Regions from separate parts of the Homo sapiens genome. Here region 1 is linked to region 2. Evidence: promoter capture Hi-C in 16 types of primary human blood cells and fetal thymus (Javierre and others, 2016). All regions are on one chromosome and are shown on one strand. Each heading gives the region's core, a stretch centred on a gene start or on the middle of the fragment in contact. The rest is flanking DNA. Distances are from core to core; before and after follow the strand shown. Region 1 overlaps MIPOL1 (mirror-image polydactyly 1). Region 2 holds the start of FOXA1 (forkhead box A1).

Region 1 (3,684 bases), core at 949-3,448, 370 kb before region 2:
GAACAGTATGGGGGAAACCACCCCCATGATTCAATTATCTCCCATTGAGTCCCTCCTACAACATGAGGGAATTATGGGAGTTATAATCCAAGATGACATTTGGGTGGGGACACATCCAAACCATATCGTTCCACCCCGGCCCCTCCCAAATCTCATGTTCTCACATTTCAAAACCAAGCATGCCTTCTCAACAGTCCCCCAAAGCCTTAACTCATTTCATCATTAACTCAAATGTCCACAGTCCAAAGCCTTAACTGTTACAAGGAAAGTCCCTTCTGCCTATGAGCCTGTAAAATCGAAAGCAAATTAGTTATTTTCTAGATATAAAGGGGGTATAGGCATTGGGCAAATACAGCTATTCCAAAGGGGAGAAATTGGCCAAAACAAAGGAGCTACAGGCCCCATGCAAGCCCAAAATCCAGTGGGGCAGTCAAATATTAAAGTTCCAGAATGATCTCCTTTGACTCCATGTCTCACATCCAGGTCACGCTGATGCAAGAGGTGGGTTCCCATGGTCTTGGGCAGCTCTGCCCTTGTGTTCTTGCAGGGTACAGCCTCCCTCCCAGCTGCTTTCACAGGCTGGCATTGAGTGTCTGCAGCTTTTCCAGGCACATGGTGCAAGCTGTCAGTACTTACACCATTTTAGGGTCTAGAAGATGGTGGCCCTTTTCTCACAGCTCCACAAGGTGGTGCCCCAGTAGGAACTTTGTGTGGGGGCTCTGACCCCACATTTCCCTTCTGCACTGCCCTAGCAGAGGTTCTCCATGAGGGCCCCACCCTGCCGCAAACTTCTGCCTGGACATCCAGGCATTTCCGTACATCCTCTGAAATCTAGGCAGAGGTTCCCAAACCCCAATACTTGACTTCTATGCACTTGCAGGCTCAACACCACATGGAAGCTGCCAAGGTTTGAGGCTTGCACCCTCTGAAGCCATGGCCTGAGCTCTATGGTGGCCCCTTTCAGCCATGGCTGGAGCAACTGGGACACAGGGCACCAAGTCCCTAGGCTGCACACAGCACAGGACCCCTGTGGCTGACCCACTTTTTCCTCATAGGCCTCCGGGTCTGCAGTGGGAGCAGCTGCTGTGAAGACCTCTGACATACCCTGGAGACATTTTCCCCATTGTCTTGGGGATTAATATTTGGCTCCTCATTACTTATGCAAATTTATGCAGTCGGCTTGAATTTCTCCTCAGAAAATGGGATTTTCTTTTCTATCATGTGGTCAGGCGGCAAATTGTCTGAACTTTTATGCTCTGCTTCCCTTATAAAACTGAATGCCTTTAACAGCACCCAAGTCACCTCTCGAATGCTTTGCTGTTGAGAAATTTCTTCCGCCAGACACCCTAAATCATCTCTCTCAAGTTCAAAGTTCCACAAATCTCTAGGGAGTGGCAAAATGCCTCTAGCCTCTTGCTAAAACATAACAAGAGTCACCTTTATTCCAGTTCCCAACAAGTTTCTCATTTCCATCTGAGACCACCTAAGCCTGGACTTTATTGTCCATATTGCTGTCAGCATTTTGGGCAAAGCCATTCAACAAGTCTCTAGGAAGCTCAAAACTTTCCCACATTTTCCTGTCTTCTTCTGACCCCTGCAAACTGTTCCAACCCCTGAGTATTACCCAGTTCCAAAGTTGATTCCACATTTTTGGGTATCCACAGCAGCACCCCACTCTGCTGGTAGTAATTTGCTGTATTAGTCTGCTTTCATGCTGCTGATAAAGGCACACCCAAGACTGGGCAATTTACAAAAGAAAGAGGTTTAATGGATTCACAGTTCCATGTGGTGGACTCACAGTTCTACGTGGATGGAGAGGCCTCACAATCATGGTAGAAGATGAAAGGCACGTCTCACAAGGCAGCAGACAAGAGAAGACAGTGAGAGCCAAGCAATAGGGGTTCCCCCTTATAGAACCATCAGATCTCATGAGACTTATTCACTACCACGAGAACAGTATGGGGGAAACCACCCCCACGATTCGATTTTCTCCCACTGGGTCCCTCCCACAACATGAGGGAATTATCGGAGCTACAATTCAAGATGACTTTTGGGTGGGGACACAGCAAAACCATATCACTGGGTGTGGTGGTGCATGCATGCCTTTAGTCCCAGTAACTCAGGAGGCTGAGATGGGAGGATTGCTTGAGCCTGGGAGTTCAAGACTGCAGTGAGCCATGGTTGCACTACTGCACACCAGCCTGGGCAGTGGAGTGAGATCCTATTTCAAAAAAAAAGGGAAAGTGTTTTACCTTTCAGCTAACATGCTGGCTTAGGACTCCTTTCTGGGTAGTGTGAGAAATACTCCTTGGGAGTTTGGAGATAAGATTTTTGGCAGCTTCCTGATTATTAAGAATTCAGTGTCCAGTTAATTCTTGACTGTGATGCTGCCTCTTTTGAATTTGTTTTGTAAGAAGCTGAAAATGTCTCTGAATATATGAGGTGCTGTGAGAGCTAGGGAACTCATAAGGCATATGTATTAGTTTCCTACTGCTGCTGTAACAGCTGTAAAAAATCACTAATTGGGTGGCTTAAAACAACACAAATTTATTATCTTACGGTTCTGGAGGTCAGTAATGTGAAATAATTTTCACTGGGCTAAAATGAAAATGGCAGTAGGGCTGGGGATTTTTAGCATCTCTTAGGGAGAATCTATTTCTTGCCTTTTCCTGCTTCTTAGAGACTGCTTGCTGTTCAAATGAAATGGTGCATTTCCCCCAAAGAGGTGATCAATTAACACTGTATAGTCTATTCATGTATTCAATAATTTGAATTTTTTTAAGTGTAGTTAATTATTTAACCTATACAGAGTCATTGTATACTATCTCTCCTCATATCTGGGGTTTGGAAATGGTGGTGCAGCAGAACAGAGACACATCCAAGGTCTAAAACATGAAGTGTGTGGTGTGTGTGTTTGTGTGTGTGTATGTGTGTGTGTATTTTCACAAGTGGAAGTGGGGTGAGCTGGAGGTTATTGAGTCTCAGGCACCACAGAATCACTGTTGACATTTGTTGTTATTGCAACAAGGAACTCCTTTAGTCAGCATTGAGGGAAGTAGGCTGGCAATCTCTTTAAGTTGTGTACCAGGATAGGAGAGACTATCTTGCACTTATAACACCCAAATAATTTTTGGTGTTTCACTCATACAGAGTTTGGCTTAGAGATTAAAGCTCCTTCTATCTTGTGATGCCACCATCGCAAGGTTCTCAAGGTTGTTGTGGGAGAAGAGAAGGCTAAAGGAGCTCATAGAATGCCTTTAATGGTAAGTCCTGAAATTCGCTTGTATCACATCTGCCCACACTACTTTGTCTACAATTCAAGTGACCAAAATATAAATAAGGCTAGGAAATATGATTTTCCTGCACATTTAATAGGAACTGCTATGGTTATAATCCAACTAGGATGGGGATTTGGAAAGGGATAGAGTAGAAGAGGAAATGATGGTTAGATCTCATCTCTTTTCATTACTCCAGCAAGATTTTTACCCTGCCTTGACAGTACCATTTGGCACTTGCTGCTTGGGCTATTGCTGTGGATTTCTGTATTGGTGGGACAGACAATGATTGACCTAAGGCAACATCAGGGACTTAAGAACCATACACATTACACATTTTTCTCTCACCTATTCTTTCAGCATCACCAGTGTCTACCTTTCACCTGAGGTGGCCCCCAACCCTATTTCA
Region 2 (3,832 bases), core at 555-3,054:
CAGTCCCCTGTTTGAAAAATTTGGTGACACAGTTTGTCAAAATAAATCTTTTTTTTTTTTCACATGCTGATGTTGCTGCCGATGATTTCAACGCCTGGCTTTGAGATTCCGTGAGTAGTCTTGAATAATTTAAAATTCGAAAATCAAATTCTACTTATTTTCTCTTAATGCTATTGTATTTCCTAATTCTCAGCTTTAACATGTAAGAAAGTACTTTCGCTAGGGGTCTTAATTGAATGGTGGGGTCGAGATGACTGCGTCAGAATTAAATCTCTGGAAGACCTCTGAGCTCCTTTTAAAATCATCAACAAGCGAAAATCCTTATCAATAGCGATGTGGGAATGCATTAGGTACAGTATTTTAAACATACAAAACCTAGGCATATTAAAAAGCACTCCTCTGGTAATTTAATAAGGAATAATGATGTCCTTAAGTTTATTTTAATCAGCAAGTATGACTCAATTTGAAAATATGAGAACAAATAGATTTAAATAGGAACACCCAGTAAACTATGGTATGCAAATAAACTCAGAGGTAAACTTGTGAATACATAAATCTAAATAAGTCAGTTACCATCAAAATATTACGTGATCCTATATTTTTCTGTCCACGTCTTAAAAGTATTTTTTACCTTGGGGCTTTATTTTCTTTCCCTCTTCCCAAGATTATCCAAGGCAGTTCCAATACGCGTTTTCAATAATGGTAATTAAACTTTTGGAGGGTAATCGCCAGCTGTTTCCAGAAAAATACTTTTAATAGGTGGTAGTCCTCCCTGTAACTGGTTTTCCCTGTAATCCTTTTGTGCACATTGTAAAAATAACCCCCATGAACGTGCCACCAAGGGGACAATGAAGAGAAACAGGTTCTCGGCCCAGAGTTGTGAAGAAGATTTTGGTCGCACTAGCGCCACCCAGCGGTTTTAGAGAAGGAGCACACTTCTCCCCAAATAGGGCTTTTGAAGAACAAGTTTTACAAAATTTAGAAATCGTTTCATTATTGAGACACCCAACTTGGCGGCAGAGCGCTTTAATCAGAAGACGTCTGCGAATTAAACGGTGGGACGAAGAGGTCGCCTTGTGGGTATGCTCCGGCTTTCTCAGAGTTGCTTCCAACTCGCACCGGCGCTCGCCCGCCCGCTGCACCCCGGGCCCGGCTCCTGCTCCCGCTCGCTGCTGGGAAGAGGCAAGCGCTTCCTAGAGCCGCTGTTTTCAAAGCCCGGAGTTTCCTAAAACTCCCTCTCCGGCTGCGAGAGTCGGGACAGAGCAGGGCAGCAGGTCCCGCTTCCAGGCCCGGCCAAGGCCCGGCCGGGGCCACACCGGCGGGCGGGCAGCGGTGGCACCGAGAAGGCGCCCCCGGCCCGCCTGCCTGCCTTGCCTGGCGCCCACCGCTCCCCGGCCTCCCCCGGCACGGGCTCCAGCGGCGCCCCACCGGCCGCCCGCCTCGCCTTGCCTCTCACCTCCTGCGTGTCTGCGTAGTAGCTGTTCCAGTCGCTGGTTTCATGCCCTTCCATCTTCACAGTTCCTAACATCCTGGAGCCACCCTGCCCAATACAACCATCCAGCCCTGTGCGAAGCGACGGGCGGCCGCGCGGCGCGGGGCGGGGGAGGGGAGCTGAGCAGCTGCAGTCACCCGAGCGCCCGCGCGGGCCCAACGCCACCCGGGCGAAGAGGAAGCCCAGAGCTGCGGGGCGCGGCGTGCGCGGCGGCGGCGGCGGCGCGGCGGGCGGGGGCAGCGCCGGGGGCAGGCGGCTGCCGCGGAGCGCGGCGCCGGGGAGCGCCTCCGCGGGAAGTGAGCGGGCTGCCTCTGCGAGGCAAGTGCAGTTGAGCTGATGTGGATCTTACGTCGCTTGAGTGCCCACCTCCTCGTCCTCTCCCCATTTGTCCGCCGCACAAAGACGCTCGCACCTACAAAGCCCGAGGTGCACCTGCAAGGCGGCCGCCCGCCAGTCCGGCCGCCGCGCCTCCCGCCCCGCCGCTTCACCGCTGCGCGCGACCCCTCCCCCGCGACCCCTCCCCCAAGCGGGGCCCTCACTTTGTTTGCAAAGCAGTGTAATTGGTTTAGGCCCGGAGGCTAGGGAAAGAGGGAAATGGGGAGGGAGGGGGTGTAACCCCCTTTGGAAAAAGAAAAAATAGGCGGGGCCAGGCGGGCGGGCGGGCTAGGGCTCTGGATCGGAACCTCGCAGCCGGAGAAGGCCGGGGGCGGTGGCGTCGGAGACTGGGCTTAGAGACCTTGTGGGATAACTGACCCCGGGGTCCCTCCCCAGAGGTACACGCCACCTTCCGAGCGCGGGCTGCGGCCCAGTCTCGCGCCCCTCCTGCTCTTTGCTTCCTCCCTCCTGATTCCTGACCCAAAGTTCAACCCCGGGAGACTGGAGAATACAGACTTTTTTTTTTCTTTCCTCCTGAGAGCTTCAGACTAGAAAAGGGAAAAAGCCCCACTTTTGCTTCGTCACTAGAAACCGGGTCATCTGAGTCAGCCGAGCCAAGTGACGTTAGGCCGACCCGGGCCCCGGGCTAGCAGAGCGGAGGCGCTGCCACGAAACTCGTACCTGCGGCTAAGAGCAGGTGAGTCACAGCACCGGTTTATATCTTTATGACATAACTTTTTTTTTTTGTTCCGCCTCGGTCCGCTCCTCTCCCCTTGTCATCTGTAGCGACCACAAAGAGGAAGAAACTGAGAGCAGATGTCTGTGTGATAGGGCAGGCGGACCCAAGTCGGGCCGTCCTCCCCCTGCCGGGCTCCTCCTCCCGCCCCCCTTCAGCCGCTTCAGGGAGTGAGCTGGAGACGACCGTCTGGTTTCTGATAGGAAAAGGTCAGGGGGAGGGGACATCTCCCATAACACGCGCGTTAGCTGGGAGAGCAAGGGCCTGGGCGCGGGAACGCATCTGCACTGCGAAAGAGATGCCAGGCAGAAGCCCGAGACTGCCCGCAGCGGCGCTTGGTCCTGTCTGTGACCCGGAGGGTCCGGGCTGAGATCTCAGGGGCTCGCTTGGTTCCTAATCGGTCCTGGACGTCGGTGGGAGAGTCTTCCCAACGCAAAGTCTCTTTACTCTCATGAGGCCCTGGGTGGTGGTTGCCCACTTGTCCTGGGAGAGAGAACAACTGAAGTGACCGGGTGATAGGCAATTAGTTGGTGATAGATTGGGAGATGGTGCGTGTGTTTTGAGTGTGTGACCGTTTGTATATTTCTGAGCATGTGTGACTGTGTGTGTTTCTGAGTGTCTGTGACCATGTGTTTGTTGTACTGCCTGTAGAACCACTAGGTTTCCTTAAGTAACAATAAAATAAAATCTAAAGTAATTAAGAATCCGCAAAATCTTCTTGTTTTGCAAAGTTTTTAAAATGTTATTAATCTCATTTTAAGAAATGTGTTTTAACTTGTCTTCCAAACAGATACCTTTTTCCCTGTGCTTTGTTCTTTTAAATCTCTTTTACTTGAAATCTGGCAAGAGAATCACTTTAAATCCCTGAACCAAACAAATCTCTTAAGTCAGCAGGGGAGCAGAGAGGGTGAAGATGTGCAGTTAAGGAAATAAAAAAAGATAAAAGCATTGGATTACATTTTTTTTTTTTTTTTTTACAAAAAGGGTGGGGGGGTAGAAACGTCACATCATAAGGAAAGGAATGAGTGAAATTAAATCCACCTGGAACTCAGTAGGGCAGGAACCCTCCCTAATGCAGCCTGCTCCTGTGACTGCAAGTTGTCCCATCAGTTTGTGTAAATGTATCTGCGAATTGTGTGTCAGAAACTAATTCTTTTGTGCAAAGTTCCCATTAGTAGCTGACTTTAGTTCCATTTGTAAAGTATACGGATGCTTAGCTTCCTGGGCCT

What was found. Contacts are between HindIII fragments. The CHiCAGO score rates a contact against its expected background, and 5 or more counts as called.
Region 1: a contact is called between a fragment that was not itself captured here and the fragment with the promoter of FOXA1 in region 2, in 1 of 17 cell types (megakaryocytes). The highest score is 5.1, in megakaryocytes.

The regions. Positions count from the first base shown.
Region 1 is chr14:37,224,576-37,228,259 of GRCh38, forward strand. The region is part of intron 1 of MIPOL1 (mirror-image polydactyly 1); the gene reads left to right. Among named protein-coding and RNA genes, the nearest start is that of MIPOL1, 28 kb to the left of the region's middle. The HindIII fragment of the contact is 7,955 bases long and covers 1-3,684 here.
Region 2 is chr14:37,593,445-37,597,276 of GRCh38, forward strand. FOXA1 (forkhead box A1) reads right to left here and starts at 1,805. Exons shown (of 2, transcript NM_004496.5): 1 at 1,457-1,805. The coding sequence starts at 1,528. It overlaps TTC6 (tetratricopeptide repeat domain 6), which reads left to right and starts at 2,185. Exons shown (of 33, transcript NM_001310135.5): 1 at 2,185-2,564. RefSeq lists enhancers at 1,741-2,600, 2,114-3,313. The HindIII fragment of the contact is 10,101 bases long and covers 1-3,832 here.